Regions from separate parts of the Homo sapiens genome. Here regions 2, 3, 4, 5 and 6 are each linked to region 1. Evidence: promoter capture Hi-C in 16 types of primary human blood cells and fetal thymus (Javierre and others, 2016). All regions are on one chromosome and are shown on one strand. The core of a region is centred on a gene start or on the middle of the fragment in contact, and the rest is flanking DNA. Distances in the headings are between cores, read along the strand shown. Region 1 holds the start of COX7C (cytochrome c oxidase subunit 7C). Region 2 holds the start of LYSMD3 (LysM domain containing 3). Region 3 overlaps POLR3G (RNA polymerase III subunit G). Region 4 overlaps POLR3G (RNA polymerase III subunit G). Region 5 has its middle 25 kb from the start of CETN3. Region 6 overlaps TMEM167A (transmembrane protein 167A).

What was found. Contacts are between HindIII fragments. The CHiCAGO score rates a contact against its expected background, and 5 or more counts as called.
Region 2: the fragment with the promoter of LYSMD3 here is called in contact with the fragment with the promoter of COX7C in region 1 in 9 of 17 cell types (non-activated CD4 T cells, activated CD4 T cells, naive CD8 T cells and 6 more); the score reaches 28.9 in non-activated CD4 T cells.
Region 3: a contact is called between a fragment that was not itself captured here and the fragment with the promoter of COX7C in region 1, in 1 of 17 cell types (non-activated CD4 T cells). The highest score is 7.4, in non-activated CD4 T cells.
Region 4: a fragment that was not itself captured here is called in contact with the fragment with the promoter of COX7C in region 1 in 2 of 17 cell types (total CD4 T cells and naive CD4 T cells); the score reaches 7.3 in total CD4 T cells.
Region 5: a fragment that was not itself captured here is called in contact with the fragment with the promoter of COX7C in region 1 in 1 of 17 cell types (total B cells); the score reaches 8.2 in total B cells.
Region 6: a contact is called between a fragment that was not itself captured here and the fragment with the promoter of COX7C in region 1, in 2 of 17 cell types (activated CD4 T cells and total CD4 T cells). The highest score is 6.9, in activated CD4 T cells.

Annotation. Positions count from the first base shown.
Region 1 is chr5:86,616,256-86,619,746 of GRCh38, reverse strand. COX7C (cytochrome c oxidase subunit 7C) reads right to left here and starts at 1,806. Exons shown (of 3, transcript NM_001867.3): 1 at 1,617-1,806; 2 at 251-394. The coding sequence starts at 1,691. The coding sequence ends at 278. RefSeq lists enhancers at 716-1,381, 1,679-1,768, 1,701-1,995, 1,382-2,047, 2,059-2,138. The HindIII fragment of the contact is 5,230 bases long and covers 7-3,491 here.
Region 2 is chr5:90,527,699-90,531,189 of GRCh38, reverse strand. It overlaps LYSMD3 (LysM domain containing 3), which reads left to right and starts at 1,606. Exons shown (of 3, transcript NM_198273.2): 1 at 1,606-1,742. RefSeq lists enhancers at 950-1,209, 1,835-2,335 and a silencer at 1,320-1,569. The HindIII fragment of the contact is 4,420 bases long and covers 509-3,491 here.
Region 3 is chr5:90,508,688-90,512,178 of GRCh38, reverse strand. It overlaps POLR3G (RNA polymerase III subunit G), which reads right to left. Exons shown (of 8, transcript NM_006467.3): 8 at 1-126. The coding sequence ends at 40. Among named protein-coding and RNA genes, the nearest start is that of LYSMD3, 19 kb to the left of the region's middle. The HindIII fragment of the contact is 674 bases long and covers 1,533-2,206 here.
Region 4 is chr5:90,486,833-90,490,323 of GRCh38, reverse strand. POLR3G (RNA polymerase III subunit G) reads right to left here. Exons shown (of 8, transcript NM_006467.3): 3 at 2,195-2,324. Among named protein-coding and RNA genes, the nearest start is that of POLR3G, 14 kb to the right of the region's middle. The HindIII fragment of the contact is 5,238 bases long and covers 1-3,491 here.
Region 5 is chr5:90,383,165-90,386,655 of GRCh38, reverse strand. No RefSeq gene overlaps it. Among named protein-coding and RNA genes, the nearest start is that of CETN3, 25 kb to the left of the region's middle. The HindIII fragment of the contact is 2,597 bases long and covers 585-3,181 here.
Region 6 is chr5:83,065,790-83,069,280 of GRCh38, reverse strand. All of the region lies in intron 1 of TMEM167A (transmembrane protein 167A), which reads left to right. Among named protein-coding and RNA genes, the nearest start is that of TMEM167A, 9.9 kb to the left of the region's middle. The HindIII fragment of the contact is 2,006 bases long and covers 722-2,727 here.

The DNA.
Region 1 (3,491 bases), core at 557-3,056:
CAAGCTTGCTAGAGAACATGAGATATCGATGTAAAGTGTACCTGATAAGCAGTAGTATTCAATAAACACTGGCCATTATTGAAATATTTTTATATAGGTTTACAACTAGTCTCCACCAATGCCACATCTACACATAACCTCAGGAATCAGCCCTACACAACAATGTATTTGTGTGTGTGTTCTGGGTGATGGGGAAGAGGCTACTTAATAAAAAGGCCTGCTTTAACATGATTAGAAATCCACTAACTACCTGTTAAATGGAGGAACTGAAACATCCTTATGTTTTAAGCAGTTGGTGTCTTACTACAAGGAAGGGTGTAGCAAATGCAGATCCAAAGTACAAACACATCTTAGCTAGTAACGACCACTTGTTTTCCACTGAAAATGGCAAATTCTGTTGGAAAAAAAGAGAAAAAGTAATCGAAATTGAATCTCAAATCATCTGCTTAATAATCAAAATACAAGTATACAGGAAATGCTAGTTATATTTTACATCATCAGGTTAACATATGCCATAAATCATAACATCGTTTTAAACATTTATCTTTCAAATCCTATGACCTTCATCACAAAACACTACATGGCAAGAAATAATCTGGCTTTACTAAGCACTAGGCAATGAATGGTCTTGAGGACTCAAACGTCAAATAGTGAGAAGTTTCTTACTTTAGAAAATCGAAAAAACTACTGTCCTAAGTAGTCACCTTAGAAGATACATGGCAATGTTAAGTGCAATACAGCTCTTTTTTTTTCTTTTTTTTTTTTTTTGAGACGGAGTCCCGCTCTGTCCAGGCTGGAGTGCAGTGGCCCGATCTCGGCTCACTGCAACCTCCACCTCCCGGGTTCAAGCGATTCTCCTGCCTCAGCCTCCCGAGTAGCTGGGATTAGAGGCACACACCACCACGTCCGGCTAATTTTTTTGTACTTTTTAGTAGAGACAGGGTTTCGCCATGTTGGCCAGGCTGGTCTGGAACTCCTGACCTCAGGTGATCCGAACGCCTTAGCCTCCCGATTACAGGCGTGCGCCACCGCACCTGGCCCACAGTTTTTTTTGTTTGTTTGTTTTTCATTACCAAGCACCTTCTCTGGCCTTTATGACTAGGCCTCGTGTGACCCTCCGAGATTGTTACTGCTATGTGGTTTAAGTTATTTACACCTGAGGCCAAACCCAGCCTTAACTGAGGTGAAGGGTTAGTACTTCTAACTTAGGCAGCTAGTTTAAAAAGCCTGTTCCATAACCAGAGGCCCTGATTTCCTCATGATTTTCCAATGACCTTCATTTCGGGTCCGATGACCTCCAGCTCGGATTTAACCAACACACCTACAGCCGTGGCCTCCCGGAGCCATCTCAGGGCTTTCTGCGGGGCGGGGGAGGGGGCGTCAGGTGGCTGATGGAGGCAGGGCTTCCGGATCTACCTGCCCATTCCTTTAGCGGCTACGCGCTAGGATGCCCAGCTTCCTCACTGGTCCTTGGGCTAAGTGGAATGCTAGTCTGCGTCTCAGCCTGGTTTCTGGCTATCATCTCCCACGCCACAGCCCGGAGGCGGCCTTGCAGGTGCGCGAGTCACAGCCAAGCGCCCCCTCCCCCAACGAAGCCGTGCCCCTTACACACTAACCTTCCCAGGGCCCTCCTCATAGTGGCTCCTACGGACCACAGAGGTTGTGAACCTCCGGATGCTCTGGCCCAACATACCGCTGCTGGAAGCTCTGCGAAAGGCGCAGAGAATGAGGACAGATGAAATGGCGGCACCTCACCAAGACCTTTTTTTTCACGACCTTGTTCCCCGGTGCGCAAGGACTGAAAAGAAAGATGGGAAATGGGGCGGAGCCTTGAGGAAACGCGACAAAGCGGAAATCGCCCTGGATTGTGGGAATTGTAGTTCAGACCATTGCGGAGCCTTATCAGCCCCCGAAGGATTGTGGGAAATGTAGTTTCGCGCCAGGCTTAGGTCTAGGATTCCTGGGGCCTGTTACCGGAAACGATTTTATTGAATCAAGTGAAGCAGTTTCACCCCGTATACTCTAGTCTGTTGAAAAGGACAATAAACCCATCCCTTTTCTCTTCTTTCTTTCTTTTTTAAAAATAAAGTATATGCTAGGTGTCAATGATTTCGAGGACTTTTGCCAATGCTGAGAGATATGTGCTAATGATCCTAGCTGAAGAAACAAAGCATAAACACAAGTAATCAAACAACGTGCAGCACAAAGGACTTCAGAGAGAAAACTGAAATGCTAAGGGAATGATCACTAAAGATAATGGGAATCGAATAAAAAAGAAGGAAGAACAAAGGGCAGGGAAAACTCAAGTCTGGTATGAGTACAGCATGTGTGAGGAGTAGAAGGGAAAAGTGGCCTCTGACACCTGGAGCTAGCCTGGACTAGGAACTGGTGTCCGCCTGATGAACGTACACAATTTCAGCAAGCATTAGCATCCAACAAGACCACTCTGACAGTGTTCATTAAGAAAAGAATATGATCACTGTGTAATCACATCTGAACACAGATAAAACATTGTCCAAGCCACGAAAATGACCGGACATCACCCTATCTGGTTTAATTTGATGACTTCTGCTTCTTTACCAATTACAATCTTAGCCTTGATCTAGCCTTTCTTCCTCCTAAGATTTGGTAAGGTAGCCAATATTAGGAGAAAAAAATCCCAAATCCAATAAGCATTTTCTAATATTTTACAGAGAACCCTTACTGCAATGAATAATAAACCCCGTTTGTCAATTACATGTGTGCTTCTGGTGGTCTTTGACCAGAAGGTATTGAGAAGAAACCAGTGATAAATGAACCTGGGAAAGTGGTGTTAGGTTAGATTGTGAAAGGCCCTGGTAACCTAAATGTTATGTTATTCATCTGTGGGGGAGTGTATATTGCCTCACGTGTCTCATTTATATAGCATTAGGAAACAATTCCAATAAGACCTAAGGTTTGCTTTGAAAAGGGCATAACATATATGCTCTTTTCGTCTTTTTTTTTTTTTTTTTTTTCAGTTTTTGGAAGAGAACAACCATGCCCCTCCCCCCCAAAAAAACACTTAAAAAAAACACTTAAATTCATATTTTGTTTCAACAAGTAGCTTCTTTTTGAGTAGGGGTTCATGAAATGCATCATAACTGGTGTCCTCTACCACCTAATTTATAGAAGTTATGTGACATTCCATTTTTTTTTAACATTCCGTTCACTGCCTTTACATATTAAAGAATTCTGATTTAACTATAATTGAGAAACTTTTTCACACTTAATATTTCTAGATTACACTTTTCAATCTAGTGTGAGTAATGTTATCTGTGGATTTGGTTCATTGTTGCTTCTAATTCACATTAATTGAGCCTCCATTGGGTATCTGGCTTTGAGTTAACTCTTTAGGGACCTGCAGGGCAGAGATTCCAGAATATGGTTTCAGAACTGTCTGCCTTCTCATGGGCTTTGTGGTAAGTTAAATACAAAAAAAAAAAATATGTTTGGCCGGGCGCGGTGGCTCA
Region 2 (3,491 bases), core at 357-2,856, 3.9 Mb before region 1:
CCTTGTTAAATACAAATAACTATTCAAGAGCATGCAGATATCTTTGAGAAAGTTATTTATATGAAGGATACAGGTATCGGTCCTATAGAAGTGCTTGAAATCTATCACTTTGGCTCTCACATTAATTCCGCTGTCTATTGACATTAAAATAAGAAAAGTAACCTATAGACAGAAAGAAGGTTGTATTCCCATTAACATTCATGAGGGCTAAGCAGCCGAAGTCCTACATATCAAGCAGGGAATATATCCTTTGTCTGCTGATGAGAGAACGTCTCAGTGATAAATGGTTACAGACAGGGGTGTCATGAGGGCAACAACACACAGAACAATTCAGACAAACTTTTTAAAAAAGTCTTCTCCTGCAGTTTTTTTTTGTGGCGCTGGGAAGCACAGTGCCTATCCCTGCTAATAAAAGAAAACTATTGCAATGCAAAACTCCTAACCTTTGCAGAGGCACTTACCAGAAAACCAAAAACATACTCTTTGAAAAACAATTTAAAACCAAGCTTCAAAGGCTTTCTAATGTATAAATATTCAGACATTCTGAAAAGCACTGCTCTGCACCCTGCACCCCAGCTATTTGTGCCTAAAATGGATATTGTCGTAACAGTTAGCATGGTTGTCAAAGTGCAACGTCTCTAATATCAACACTGAGAGACATCAGACTCATTAAAATGCTTTACATTCATTAATTAGGTTGGTGCAAAAGTAGTTGCGGCTTTTGCCAAAGTCATACATAAATTCAAACACATTATGATACTCATTTAACACATTTGTGATAAAAATCATGTATGAAGTCATGAGTTTATTTAATAAGCTAATATTCCATAGAGTCCAATGGTGACTACCAATGACTCAGTTAATTTTCAAACCAAAATAAGTTAGATTACAATTTGTTGACTCCCTTGACTCCTCGAGCCAGGGAAAACATTTCCTGGGGCCTGACTCTAGGTGGCTCACTTCCCTCACCTAAAAACAGGAAGGGTGAGACAACCCCCTCCAACCCTCGTCCTCGGTCCCCCAAGGATTTCTCTCCAGAATTCTGCCTCTTCTGCAGCAGTCTGGAGTCTTCAGCATGAAAAGGGTAACAAACATGGCGCAATTTTCTGAAACCGTGATGTCAACAGTGTTTTTGAGGTGTCCTTTCCCACCCTAAAGAAAATTCGAGATGCACAGCAAGAAAAAAATGCAAGACAGCTCCCCGACACATCCTGAGCCACGCCTCGTCCTCAGGGTGCACCCGACAGTCTCTGCCAGCGCAGTGTGGACGCTGGACAAAGACGCAGCCAGTAGGTCGCTGGTGGTCGCGGGTTGGATCCGCTGACTTGGCCACCAAATCTTTTCCTCGGGGAGTGAAGCGGCACGGAAGGAGCGGAGTCAAGGGCGGGGCTGGGGATTGGACCCGCCCCCGGGCCCGGGGATTGGACCCGCCCCCGGGCCCCGGAGGAGTCCCTGCGCCTGCGTGCCGGGCGTGGACCTGTGGTTGGACTCCCCCGTTTTGGGCTGCCCTCCGCGTCCTCCCCCGCCCCTTCCCACCTCCGCCCACTTGACGCGATGACGCATCTCAGGTTTGCGGACGTGGCGGCGGCGTACGGCCCGGAAGGCGGAGACGTTGGCGGCAGAGGCGGAGGCGGACGGGGTCAGCCCAAAGCAGAGGCTCGGCCATGAACTTACCCGGGACAGCGGCGGCGGCGGACCTTTTGGCCATCTTCTCGCAGAGTGCTCCCTGCTAACGGGGACAGGTAAAGATGGTGGCAGGAGGTGAGGGTAGCCCGGTCCAGGAGGGCGGGGTTGAGCCCCAGCTGCGTCCTCACGGGAGGCGCTGAGCCTCGGCCACAGGTGTGGTGGGGGCTGCAGGGCCGGGCTCGGCCCGTGTGGCGGACACCCCCGAGACAGGGAAGAACTTCCAGACCAGCCCTGCCAGGCCCTCTTGTCACACTGTCGGGGAAACTGAGGCTCAGAGGAAGGACGCCTACCTGCTGGATTACCTGGGCAGCTAATTTCCCACCCAAACACAGCATTTCTCCCACGACTTTATGTTGGCGTGAAATATTCGCTGACGGCATCTTGTCACATCGTTCAAGTGTCATGCTGTGACAGAAGACTCTGAGACGTAATCTTCGCTGACGATAGCAGGGAAAGAAAAACTTGACGTGTGGAATACAGAGGGAGGAGGTAGTTAAGTTTTAAAAAACAAAATTGTCCCTGGCAGCGGATAGGGTGCCTTTGATTCTGTCCCTTTGCAGCTTTAACTTGTGCCCTGTGACCCTCTTATTGCACCTTGCTTAGTTAAAGAAGGTCAAGGCGAAACACCCAGCAGCCATTCTACAGTACGAAGGTGTTTGGGAAACCGTTTTCAGTTACAGACTGAGCTGAAGAATGCTTTAACACTGTTTTGTGGCCCCTCGTAATCTAGGTAGCACGCAGGCTTGTTCCAAGTTTCTGAAAGGGAGTTCGTGCCTTTTTCCTGCTCTAAGAGAATTAAGAGAGGTGAATAGAATTGAGCCAGATGACTTAAATATTATGTATTTTCTAATCTCTGAGTAGTAGACTGGAGTGATCGCCTGGGTCAGTCTGTTCACTTCGGTTGAAGACACAGCCAGTTCTTGATCATTCAGAATACCCAGATTTGTAACACGATAGTCAGCTGCCTGCATTTCATTATAAAGGGGAGTGGAGAGATAGTGAGACAGGTGAAGTTCTGACCTTTAAATTATATTTAGAAATATATCGTGGAGAGAGGTTGATAGAAACAAGTATCTAAAATGGCTTTGGGGCATTGCTTAGTGATTTTCAGTTAGCTGCACTACTAAGCCAATTTTGAAGTTCTAAGTACAAATTATTAGGGTGAAACTGTCTAACAAGACACATAAGTAGGTCGGTATAGCCAAGTGTAAATTGCTGTATATTAAGTCTTAACTTTTTTGATCATGGATGCCTTTTGAGAATATGAAGCAATGAAAATTCTCCCCAGAAAAATATACATATGTATAAAATTTGCCTGGAATCTACAGGATTCAAAGACATTCCCTAGGTTAAAGACACAAGATTAAAAAAAGACCTGGTTAAATGAGTGGAAATAAAACTGTTATCCTTGGAGGAAAAGATGTGGTCATGACTTCAAAACTGCTTTTGAGATATAAAATGTGATAGTTTTCTTTAGTTTCATAGCTGTCAAGTTAGGAATCCTAGTTCTTGGTAATAATGTAGCACTTCAGAGAACAGTTGAAATAATCTACTTAACATATAGCTATTAGTTATCTGTGTTATCTGAATAGGAACTCTTGAGCTTTTAAAGCATTATAATATTGCCATTAGAGCAAGGTCAGAAAGTGCTTTTCAAGGGTTGGATTCAACTATATTAAATAGTTTTAAAGCATTTTATGATAAGTATATGCCTAGAAAGTACAGGTTGGGTAGTCCTTACCTGAAATGCTTGAGACCGGAAGTGTTTCAGATTTCTTTGGATTTTGGAATGTTTGCATATACAT
Region 3 (3,491 bases), core at 620-3,119, 3.9 Mb before region 1:
AAGCTGCATCATAAAAATATTTTTTGAAAAATTTCATGCCTAATAGGTTGCCTCATCCATGTTGTCATCACTGTCTGCGCCAAAATCATCTCCATCTTCAAAGTATGAATTAATGTAGTCATTTTCCTAAGTGAAATGATATATTCCTTTGTAAACGTTAAAATGAATGAGTAGTAAGAAAATATTCCAGGCCTAAAAGTCTCTGCTTTTTATCTGCTTCAAAAACACAACAGTTTTCACTTGTGTTTACCTGTGCCGCTTTCTTCCTTAAGACCACCACCTTCCACTCTTGTCAGGCACTAACTAGCTAAGAGAACATGAAGGGTTGCCCATACCATCTCAATAGGATAATATAGCTACTAACACATTACAGCTTACTGGGATGATACATAGTTTAGTTAGCTAAACCACTAAACACTTACCCAAAAAATGCACAGACAAGAAAAAAAGCCAGTTTACATTAACATCCATTAGACTACACCAGTACTGAGATTTTTAGTCATAAAACATAACTAAGCATAAGCCAGAAAGACTTTTACTTCCTATTAAAAAAAAAAAAAAAGGCATGATACCAAACCAAATCCAAAAGATGCCTATATTATATTCTATCTAGGACCTCTTAGTTTCTTTTTCTTGTGGCTGAATAAGACTATCATCCATGCAAATAACTCAGAAAATATCTGTGCTTTCTATCAAAAATTCAAATATTACTTTCTTATTTATTTTTCCGGGCCTCCAGTATCTTACAATCAAAAATCCACTTTGGATATAAATTAAACCTAAGAGTTATTAATCAGTTGCAATGTATGGATTGTATTTGGATTCTGTTTGGAACAAACAAACTTTTTGAGACAACCAAGAAAATTCAATACTGGCCAGATATTTGATGAAATTAAGGAATTATATTTCATTGTATGGGGTGTTATAATGATACAGTGATGTTGTTAAAGAGCCCTTATTTTTGAATCCATACTGACATATTTGTGGATGAAATGATACGATGCCTAGGATTTTCTTTGGAATCCAAGGCACATGGGGCACGGGGAATGGGATGGGTGGACAGGGAGGGATTGGGTAGATGAATGAGTGGTTGAAAGATTAGCTATGAATTGACCATTGTTAAAGCTGAGTGATAAGACCATGGGTGTTTCTTTTACTAGTCACTACATTTTTGCACATGATTGAGATCTGCTATAATAAGAAATTAATGTCCACATCTCTACTATCTATAGTAAGAAATACAGACTACTCTCAAAAGAAAGTCTCCTATCAATTTTACTAATTTTTTTCCAAAGTTTTTTTTTTTTTTTAAATCTGGATAGTGGGATTTTTAATATATTTACATAATGCAAGAAAGGTAACATGCATTATTCACTGTATATGCATTCTTTAGATAGTTATCTCATTACTTTTTCTTCCCTAGATACTTTAAGTTTCTGCATTCAGCTAAGACCATTCCCATCTCTGGAAAGTTGGCCTGGCTTTTCTGGTGCCAAAAAAATTTGGCAATATTTAGACACCTGGGTGAAGCTTGGGGCCTGTGTACCAGGGGAGGGTGGCATGGTTGAGAGTTCAAATGAGGTCTCATTGTAAAGGAGACCTTTGGCAAGAACACTTGTGTAGAAATAAAAGTAAGCCGATTTGTACATAAAGTGGAGATGAATAAGGAAGGGATACTCTAGTATTCCAAATCAAGCATATGTCACTTGTGTTTTAGACATGAGTACCTCCTCCAAGTTCTGTTTAAGTGATTCAAATTTGGTAATTGTGTGACGTTAGTAATCTTTTTTTTTTTTCTTTGAGACGCAGTCTCACTCTTGTCACCCAGGCTGGAGTGCAGTGGCGCGATCTCGGCTCACTGAAAGCTCTGCCTCCCTGGTTCACGCCATTCTCCTGCCTCAGCCTCCCGAGTAGCCGGGACTACAGGCGCCTGCCACCACGCCCGGCTAATTTTTTGTATTTTTAGTAGAGACGGGGTTTCACCGTGTTAGCCAGGATGGTCTTGATCCTGAACTCAGTGCAAGCAGACATTGTCAACAGAGCATTGCAAATGCCAGTCTTGTCTAGAGTATTGACCACACAAACTAGAACCTATAGCACCACCACCCTACTACCCCCATGGCAGTGTGACAACCAAATATATCTCCAGACACTACCAAATATCCTTTCAAGAGTATTGAAAACCACTGGTTTACAGCAATAAGCTTTCAAATATGACCCAAACTTGGCTCTTCCATTCAAAGCAACTGAGCTTTCTAAAATATAAACATGATTATACCATTCCACTGTTTAAAACCCCTCAATGCTCCCCACAGTACTCAGGATAAAGTCAAATTTCTCAGCTTGACATTCAAAGTCCTTAATGACCTGCTCATCTCTCCAGCTTCATCTCTCAACACAAGCCCACTTAACACCCTCTAGTCCCGCCATACCGATTTATCTGGTCAGTTAAATTAAGAAGCTACACTCCCATCACCTGCAAGCCTCTCTCCATGTTCTTTTTTCTCCCTGCAAGTGTCCACTCCATTCCATGTTCCTATCTTGATCTGATTAGCTCTTCAGATCACCTAAATTGTCTTCTTTGAAATATCATCTTTGATATGCCTAAAATAGACTTTGGTGTGCCCACAGCATCTCTTATATGCCGCTATAGCATCCGGTACTACTGTATCACAGCATTATTCACTGTATATTAACTGTTACCTTTTTTGTCTCTCTAGTAATTTCCCTGAGAGAAGAACTGTATCTTATCTTCATATTCCCATTGCCTAGTACAATTCCAAGCATATACTTAGTGTACACTTACTATAGGTTGAATGAAAAAGAACTGAGGAGTTACATGTTTATACAGGGTAACTATGGGGAGGGATGCAATCAGAGAGATTACAGCAAGAAAAAGAAGCCCGAGGGAAGAGCCCTGAAGAATACTGACATTTAAAGACTAGAAAGAACTCCAGAGACCATAAAAATGTACCAGAAATAGGAGAAAAACGAAAAGCATTATGTAACAAAAATTAAGGGAAGCAACCATGTTTGTCTAAGACTTGGCAATTAGCACAATGCCTGGCATATAGAAGATGCATATAATTGCTGTAAATTGTTGAATTTAAATAAAGGAAATCATAAATATATATATGTTGCCCAGGCTGGAGTGCAGTGGCACGATCTCAGCTCACTGCGACCTCTGCTTTCTGGGTTCAAGTGATTCTCCTGCCTCAGCCTCCCAAGTAGTTGGGATTACAGGCACCCGCCACCACGCCTGGCTAATTTTTTATTTCTAGTAGAGACAGGGTTTCACCATGTTGGCAAGGCTTGTCTTGAACTCCTGACCTCGTGATCCACCCGCCTTGGCCTCCCAAAGTGCTGGGATTACAGAGTGAGCCACTGCGCTTGGCCAGGAAATAATATTTTAATAATAGAGCTGTCAGAAGTGTTAAATGCTGCAAAAAAGTTAAGTGACATAAAGGCTAAAATTTGTCTATGGTGAGCGT
Region 4 (3,491 bases), core at 287-2,786, 3.9 Mb before region 1:
ATACAAGAGTTTTCCCCTGAAAGAAATAAAAGCAAAAAAAAAAAAAAAACCCTTATATTTTGAAATACTTTATTGCATAGTTATCAAAGATAAAGTGCCCCTTAATCCAAGTACTAGCCAACCACTCCCATAGACCAACAACAAAATTATGTTTTTAATATCCCTGTCTAAAACACTCACATAAATGCTTTAATTATATGATATACTTTTTTTTTTTGAGACAGAGTCTCACTCTGTCACCCAGGCTGCAGTGCAGTGACATAATCTCAGTTCACTGCAACCTCCACCTCTCGGGTTCAAGCAATTCTCCTGCTTCAGCTTCCTGAGTAGCTGGGATTACAGGAATGCACCACCATGCCTGGCTAACTTTTGTATTTTTAATAGAGACAGGGTTTTCCCATGTTGGCCAGGCTGATCTCGAACTCCTGACCTCAGGTGATCTGCTTGCCTCAGCCTCCCAATGTGCTAGGATTACAAGAGTAAGCCACCGTGTCCAGTCTGATTTGACATACTTTTAAATTAGACATGTGCTTTAATAACAACCACATTCACCTAAGTGCATCTGTGTCATAGAGAAAAGATCAATTTTAAAAGCACTAAAGTATACCCTGCATTACTATTTTTTCTAATAAGAATGAATACTGATTAGTTCATTTGGTCTTACTTTTTAAAATCTTTAAAATGAAAAGTTTTATTTTAGAACTCAAACAGACGAAAGCATGCAACATCATCATGAGAGTTAAAAATTTCAGTATTAGGCCGGGCATGGTGGCTCACGTCTGTCTGTAATCCCAGCACTTTGGGTGGCTGAGATGGGCAGACCACTTGAGGTCAGGAGTTCAAGACCAGCCTAGCCAACATGGTGAAACATCTCTATTAAAAATACAAAAATTAGCCGGGCATGGTGCTGTGCGTCTGCAATTCCAGCTACTCAGGAGGCTGAGATGTGAGAATCACTTGAACCCAGGAAGCGGAGGTTGCAGTGAGCCGAGATTGTACCACTACACTCCAGCCTGGGTGACAAGAGTGAGACTCCATCCCATTTCCAAAAAAAAAAAAAAAAAATTAAGTATTTTTGAGATAAAATATTTCTTATCAAACCATTATATAACTTAAAGCAGCTATGTTTTGAGAATTAAATGAATTTGTCTAAAATGCTTCCTATAATTATAAGCACATGCTAAGATCATTACATAAGGCTTCCTTTTTTGACTCAGCCAATTCAAACTATTCTAGAGAGAGAGGAAAAATGGAATGCATTTTTAATACGAATGGAATGAGATGACACTACGAATTTCTCATGTTTTAATGATGTTGTTTTGAGAACTCAAAGATGATATCAGTCTCTCTAATCTCAACAATCAAGGGCAGAAAGTGAAAAATCAATATAGTACTGCTGTGCTAAACAGCTACTCAGGAATGGTTTCCTTTCCTATAAAACCACTTCCCACTTCTAGCCTGAGACTGTTGAGCCCTCTCCAACTATAATGTTTCCTTTCTTCCCTAAGCAGCACCAATGAATACATATTTTACATCATATCAAACACCTAAATGATAAACCAAACAAAATTAAGTCTCAAAAATTTTTTTAACCTAAATATTAAATAATCAGAGACATGCATAAAGGTTTATGTATAATGATAACAATCACGGCATTATATATACAAGCAAAAAACTGAAAATAATATTTAAAAAGCAGGAAATTAGTTACAGTTAATAATAATATATCCACAGAGTAGACTACCAGTCATTAAAAGTCATGTTTTCCAAGAATAATAAGGATATGTGAAAATGCTAATATGCTACTGAGTGAAAAAAGGAAGATACAAAGTAATGTGAATCTAATTTTGTAAAGAGAATATACATGCATAAGAAAAAATCTGGAATATATACTAAAATATTAATAGTGGTTCTCTAGACATAAGAATGGGTAATTTTTACTTTTTAAAATTTTCCTGTTTTTCATAATTTTCACTGAACATATAAAATTATAATGAAAGATATTTCTAAAAATAAAATATCAAAAAGTTTAAAGTATTTTTTCTGTTAAAGCAACATAAATAGCTTTTTCAAAGTAGTTGATAATTTTTTATTGAATCGAATCAATCAACATTAAATGATTATATATCTTGTGCTTAAACACTGTTTCATCTGTATACATTAAGCCACATAATCAAAGACTCCAATACAGTACCTTGTCTTTCTTCAGGTGTTTCAATAAAATAAGGCATTCTTTTCATTGTTTCTCTCAACTCCTGTTTCAAAGCCAGCATATATTCTTCACCTTCTCCTGTTTTCAGTGGCACTGGTTTATAATCTGTATCCTGTTTAAATTAAGAGACAAAGATTTTTTTCAAATCAATTATGTATTTTAATATCCCTTTTATCTGTATTATAGAAAACAGCAGTTTTATTGAAATACTATGTTTTACAGGCACTAAGTTTTACAACCAACTTAAAAGATGAACTTCTGTAGTCTATTTAACCTGTTAACCCATTTCCTACTTTGCTCTTCTATTAGAGGTAAGAAAGATGCGTAATTTTCCTATTGGCCCTGAAAACTACACCAATAATCATTTTGCCAAACAGTCTGTTGACCTATGTGATTATCTACTTTAAAAATTAAAGTACCAGGCCGTGCATGGTGGCTCACGCCTGTAATCCCAGCACTTTGGAAGGCCGAGGCAGGTGGATCACGAGGTCAGGAGATCGAGACCATCCTGGGTAACATGGTGAAACCCTGTCTCCATTAAAAATACAAAAAATTAGCCGGGCATGGTGGCGGGCACCTGTATTCCCAGCTACTCGGGAGGCTGAGGCAGGAGAATGGTGTGAACCCGGGAGGCGGAGCTTGCAGTGAGCCAAGATCGCGCCACTGTACTCCAGCCTGGGTGACAGAGCTAGAGTCCGTCTCACAAAAAAAAAAAAAAAAAAAAAAAAAAAAATTAATGTACCAAAAAAAAAAAGAAAAACTAAGGTACCCAAATGAGAGCAGCTGCTTTAGGTTCTTATTAACCTCAGCTAGTGGTGGTATTATTGGAAAAAAATAAATAAATAAAAAAGCAGCAGCTATCATTTAGTAAGTGGTTGCTATGACTACAATATACTCAATATCCAACATCCAGTATCTCATTGAAAGGGCTACCAATATTTATCCTTTTACAGTGAAGAAATTGAGAAGTGAATAAATGGCAAGATGGAGTTTGAAGCTGCATTTCAAGTTTTAAAAATTATACACACACATACATATACACAAATACGCGTTTGTATGTGTGTATATATTTACACAAATATGTTCATTAACAAGTGGATCTCCAGGGTACCTAGTAAAGACATTTCTGATTTCAGAGGATAAAGATAAGGTACATTTTCAAAATTTGATTAGGAATGTATACATTCATGCTGCAACTACTTATTGAGTACTCAACATGTTTAGACTATGGAGGATACCATGATAAATAAGTCAAAGTCCCTGCCCACAGGGAACTTAC
Region 5 (3,491 bases), core at 634-3,133, 3.8 Mb before region 1:
GGAATATATATATAGACCAATAAGAGGAATCATTAACTAGACTCTTATAATCTATGAATGTGATTTTTAAAAGCTTCATTATTTTGCATATTTAATTTTGTTAGTCTCTATCAACTAAGACTTTATGTTTTGGGGAATGTTCTTTCTAGGCAGAAGGGTTTGATTCCTGCAATTATGAATGTTACTAGGTACAAATTCACCTGCAGAAGGGATGACAGTCAATTCACAGGCCTTCTAAACTCCTTCTTTATTCATTTATTCAAGGAAGAATGGCACTTAATTACTCAAATTAAGATAGTGACTTGGAAAGAGAAAAATAGAACAAAATATATTTTCAATCTCCACCAGGGGGACCTATTGCTGCAACAAAAAAATGAATCTGAGGAAGAACATTTGTTTTACACAACAGTTACATGATATTATAGTTTTATTTTTTAAGTGTATACACCTATTTGAAAAAAAGTGCTTTTTATATTCCACATAATGGTATTTCTTGTGGTATAATTTTATTTTTACATTATATCTAGTAATTAAAATAGAAAAATAAACAAAATATGAGGTTTTCTTGATTTGTTAGTTAAGCTTTTTAAAAGTAGAATAAACTATTAAGTGAAAATATAAATTCAGTCTTTATTTGAGAAGAATTTCTGTTTAATATATCTACAAGATTACCTAAAGAAAGCAGAGAAAACTCTTTTTCATGAAAACATATCTTCCTAAATTTTGCGAATTCAGTATGTCTTATCCCCTACTCCACTGGCTTTTGTCTGGGATTTAAAGGCTTATAGTTTTTATGAAACATTTTCATACTATACTATTTATAATTACAAAATAGGTAAGTTCTATAATCACAAAGTTAGTAAATCTATCCTTTTGCCTCACTTCTAGTTGTGAGACATTCTATTTTCTGCTTTGAGATTATGCATGCTTTCTTAGCATCAAGTGCTATTTTATTTATTTATAGTCATATATATCTTAATATTCCTTATTTTTTACGGTTCAAATATTCTCTTTCTGAGAGCTGTATAATTTTCTAAATTCTAGATGTTTTTATCTGACTTATATGACTACCTCCTTTCTGAGTTCATTGATTAGAAGTGATTTATATTAATGGGTGTCAGTGGTGAAGAAAGTTTACCAACACTGTGGGACAGATATTACCATGTCCATTTCTCAGATCAGGAAATTGACGCTGAGAATGATTACGTTACTCAGTTAATGTAATGTTTTCTACCATATGATTCTAAGCCCAATATTATTAAACACACAGTTAATTTTAACACATCTCAGATATGAGCAAGCTATTGTTCTTGACATACTTCCTCAACCTAGACCAGATTAGTGAACTCATAATTTGAGTGTTAATGGGCCTTCTATCCCAGACATATTCTTCTGCGTGATAAATTCCTTGTTCTAAATAACTTATTTGGATAATTTTCCTTGTCCTGAATAAACACCAACCTACATAATACCATACTTTAGATGTAGCAAGAGATTTTTAAATATATATACTGCAATTATACATTTGGCCAAGCAAGGTTGTAATGATGCCTTTGAACTTTTGGTTACATGTACACACACATACAAACATAAACACACACACTACTTTTTTCTCCAAATAAAATTATTAACTCTACCTTATGAAGAACTGAATAAAGTTCAATAATAATGAAATAAAAATTTACATTAGACATATGAAATCACTCATATTAATGAAATGCAAAATTAAAGTACACCGAGGTACCACTTTTACTTATTCAATTATTTTTGTAATATACTCTGTTAAATGCAAGGAGGAGGGGAAATAAACCAGAATCCTTTCACTGCTGGCATTACAAATTGGTACAACTCCCACAGAGGGCAATTGGTAACATTACAAATAACTACACCACATGATCTAACAGATCTCTTGGAATTTAGCCTATGGATATACTTGTACACATGCAAAATTGTTTATGTTTAAGACTATTCATTATAGGTTTTTTATAGCGAAAATTGGAAACAAATCAAATGTCCCTTGTTGGGAGGCTAAATAATTGGAATACTATACAGCTGTTAAAAAGAATGAGCAAGAGGTCTATACTGATATGCAAAGAGCTTCAAGCAATATTAGATGAAAATGGCAAAATGCAGAACAGTCTTATAGTAATCTATTTGTGTAAAAAAGGAGGAATAAGAATATATATTTATATTTCATTTTATATACATAAAGAAACTCTTGAAGAACACATAGAGAACTAATAAAAGTGATTACCTGCTTGGGATTGGAGGCAAAGAGGCAACTGGTGACAGACAGGGGTAGGAAAGACACTTATTTTCTTTTGCTAGAATATTCTACCTATATTTTAAAAAGTGTGTGTGAGAGAGAATGAGAGAGAGGGAAAGAGAAAATGTGTAAGTCGAGTTTAAGTAGACACGTATACTTTTACTCCCTAAGATGACAGTAAAGGGATATTTTTAAAAAGGTACATACCCACAAGGACAAAAAGAATGGAGGAGAAAGAAATAGCAAAAATTTTGGAAGCTAGAAGGCAGATGAATGAATAATATTGACTCAGCAAACTTAGAAAGCCAAATTCTTTGTTGCTGACTTGGGAAAAGCTGAGAAACTTTTACACTGCAGAATATCCAGAAGGTTCAGGAATTGGCATTTCCAGGTACCTCTGAAAATGAGATTGAAAATGGGGCTAAAAATAGGAAGATTGGTTGAAAGTTTCCTTAAGAGGCCATTAAATAAATCCCCAATTGTACAGGTGGGCAACTGCCTTTACCCAACTTGATGGGGTTAGTCTCCAAAGCAGATAGAACAAAACCTCTCTGGATTGACATGCATCAAGAAGAGTAGTGGTGGTAGGGTGGGGTATTGCGGAGGTCGGGAGGAGCAATACTTGCTGAAAAAAGGGATTAATTGAACATTTGCATATTGAATATTCAGACTCCTCTCTCTAATCTTTCTTTCTCCACTTAGCTCTCAGAGTGTCCACAATAAGTCTAGGCAAAAGATGCTTCTTTGGGAAATCTGAGCAGTCAAGAGAAAAGACAACTGAAGAACCAATGAAATGACCAGCCAGAACCCCCTATAGTATAGATCACAGTTGACAGGCTCCAGGTCGCATTCAGAGCTTTCAGATAACTTTTTAGTACTGCACAAAAAGTTAAAACTCACCAAGTGAGGAAAGCTTTATTTAAAATTTTTCTTTTTGAGATGGAGTCTTGCTCTGCTGCCCAGGCTGGAGTGCAGTGGAGTGATCTTAGCTCACTGCAACCTCCACCTCCTGGGTTCAAGCAATTCTTGTGCCTCAGCCTCCCCAGTAGCTGGGATTACAGGCATGCACCACCATGGCTGGCTAATATTTGTATTTTTAGTAGAGACGTGGTTTCACCATGTTGGCCAGGCTGGTCTCAAACTCCTGGCCTGAAATGATCCCCCTGCCTTGGCCTTCCAAAGTACTAGGATTACAGGCATGAGCAACCGTGCCTGGCCATGAAGA
Region 6 (3,491 bases), core at 475-2,974, 3.6 Mb after region 1:
AACAGATGCTAAGCATTAAGGGGAATGCTATAGGTGGCAGGCTAATGTCCGTAAGTTAGAAACACACTTTTGACCAGAGTCTGAGTACATCTAAAAGACTTACCACCTAAGATTATTTGTTTTAAACTTTAGAGGCTTTAAACCCCCAGAACAAAGTTGTATATATCATATATTTCATACTTGTAAATGGTTTTCTTTTGTAAATGGCTTCACACACAAACGTATATACACACTCTACTTTCCTAATAGGCATGTTTTTAAGTGCCTTTTTATCTTCTATTATGAAAACATTCAAACATAAAGAGGTAGAAGCCTATAATGAACCCTCATATTCTCAGCATTTTATCATCAACCCTACCCCTCTCCCACCACACATGCACTGGATTATTTAGAAACCAATCCTGAACATTATATCATTTAAGCATGTTTTCTTTAAAAACACATTTGGAGAAGGAAAGAGAACACATTACAAAGTCATGAATTTAGATACTGCATTAGGAAAATGATAAACCTACTTTGAAGATTTGTTTTCCAACCATTTTACTGTAGGAATCTTTTGCTTAAAATACAGTAAGATTCTCATTATTCCCTGAACGTGCCAATGACTTTTTCTGTAGGGTTTTTTTCCCACATTTTTTTTTCTCTTCTGGAGCTTGCTATTTGCCCATCTGAATGGTGCCCTTTCAAGGTTTGACTCCGTTCCTGCTTTCTACATGAAGCTTTTCCTGACTTTTTCTTACAAAAATGGCATTTTTTGTCTGCATAACTCACTTCCACATTCAACAATGAGTTACTATTTACTTTTTAAAGTACATGCTCTGTTTTCACTTGATTACTTGATTATAACTGCTGTGTGCCTCAGTCTCATGTATAAAATACAGGTAATAACAATCATGAATAAAATTCAGGTAATATTTACCCCAGATACATGAGGATAACATAAAACAAGTACTCAGTGAATATCAGTAATTGCTATTGTTAGCCATAAACTCCTGTAGGGAAGGAATCATACCATGTGCCTTTTTTTTAATCCCCACTGCCTCATTTCTCAGACAAAGTGGATACCAAATACACATTTAGTTATGTTGGGAGGAAATCTGCTTTATTTTCTATGAGGTCATTATCCAATATTATTTATTAATATATTCACATACATATTCAAAATATGACCTTTGAAAGATAAGCATTGTGAGATACCATGCTTTTTATCTACAATTGATCATGAGCTAATTCATTGATTTATGTTATAAAATGTGTATCACTGGCTTTCACAGGTTTAAGATTAAAACCCAATTTAATTAAAACCCAAGATACATTAAATTTTATCTTTGTTATATCTATGAAAAAATAATGCATAGAAAAACAAGTATTAAACTGGTAATTACAAATCATTTTTGTCTTTTTCAGACCATAAAAGTGTCACTTAGACAATTTGAGAAATCTAGAAAAGTTGAGAATTAGATTAAAAACTATCTAGAGATGGCTCACGCCTGTAATCCCAGCACTTTAGGAGGCCAAGGTGGGCAGATCGCTTGAGATCAAGAGTTTGAGTCCAGCCTGGCCAACACAGCGAAACCCTGTCTCTACTAAAAAAAAAAAAATACAAAATTTAGCCAGGCGTAGTGGAGCATGACTGTAATCCTAGCTACTGGGGAGACTGAGGCAGGAGAATCACTTGAACCCACGAGGTGGAGGTTGCAGTGAGCCAAGATCCCACCACTGCACTTCAGCCTGGGCAGTAGAGCAAGACTCTGTCCCTCCACCCCCCACCAAAAAACTATCCACAGATAATCACAGCATTTTCACACTTTCTTTGCATAAAAGTTTACATACCTTAAGATGTGCTGTCTGAAATCTTTGATCCCCTTTTGCCTACTGCTTAGCATTGTGCATAAGCACTTTTTGTCCTTGAGAATATTGGTAAATAATGTATATAGTTTTTTAATTTTTTCAGTAGTTTGCATGTATTTATCATAAAAATATAGAAAAGATTCAAATGACATTGGAACAGTTTCTAGTGTCCATTTTTTTGTTTTTAAGATTCTCCTGGCTATTCTTGCCTTATTTTTTCCATATGAACTTCAGAATTAGTTGTCTGTTTAAAAGATAACTTGTTGGTATTGGGTTCACTTTAAATTTATAGGTTGTCTTTACAATGTTGCCTTCCAATATAAAAATCTGGCATACCAGGTTTCTTAATCCATGTTATGTTGCTATTTAAAAAAAAACTGAAATTGGGTAATTGGTTAAGAAAAAAGGGTCACTTAGCTCTCAGTTGTGCAGGCTAAGAGTAGTAGGGCTTGGCCCTCCTGGGAAGGGCTTTTATGTTGCATCACAACATGGCTGAGAAGGTCAAAGGGGAAACAGACCTGGTGAAAAGGAGGGAGGAGCATCATGGCTTTATAACAACGTGCTCTCTCCGGAAAGAATTCATTTCTTGGAAAACTAATCCAGTCTTGTGAGATCTCACTAATGAGAAGAGCACCCTGACATTCATGGGAGATCTACCCCCCACCACCCCGTCCCCAAACCCAAACACCTCCCACTAGGCCCCACTTCCCAACACTACCTTACTGGGGATCAAATTTCAATCTGAGCTTTGGTAGGGATGAAAAACCATTTCTAAACCATAGCAACAGTCTCTTCTACTTTTATGTTCTTCCATATGTTTTAAGATTTTGTCAGTTTTTTTCTTTGATGCCAATGTTGCACATTTCTTGTTAAGCTTATTCCTAGATATTTTAGCTGTTCGTTCTGGATGCTATCTTTTTTCCATTGTCTTTCTCCTGAATGATAATATGATTATGAAGGCTATTGATTTATATATTTTAATTATGTACCCAGCCACCTTACTCAATTTCCTTAAGATCTATAACTGTTTTTCACTAAATTCTTTAGGACTTTTCAAGTAAGCACTCAGCCGCAAGTACCAATTTTGTGTAACTAAGTTTTCTCATGAGTCATTCTTTGTTTCATTCCTGATTTTTTTGTTTGTTTTTTAGAAGGTGCCTCTAAGTTTACTAAACAAGCATATTGCTGGCTGTTGTGTGAGATTGACATATTTTATCTCCCTGTATATGATGAAAATGTTATTCTTTGTTATATATACACAGTAATATTCTTGCACTTTCTTAATTTCATTTTATTTTTTTCAACTCTCTCTTATTGGGCTTCTAGTGTGAGACAGGCATATGATTGGTGCTGGAGATTCAGAGTCTGATAATCTGATAACAATGTCTACCCTTCAGAAATGAATATTATAATAAAGGTAACAGTTTGCTATGAGACTAGAAAAGAGAGTTCTACATAAAATAAGAGAAGGGAGGCAGATGGATTCAAGGAAACTTCCTTAAAAAGGTGATGCTAGAGCTGAATTTTGAATAGAATAAGTCCACCTCCATTTACTTTAACTGGAAACCTATGATTTTGTTTGACTGTGGAAACTTATGAAACTTATGGTTTCTTATGACTCTTGTGTTAAATTTTAACTT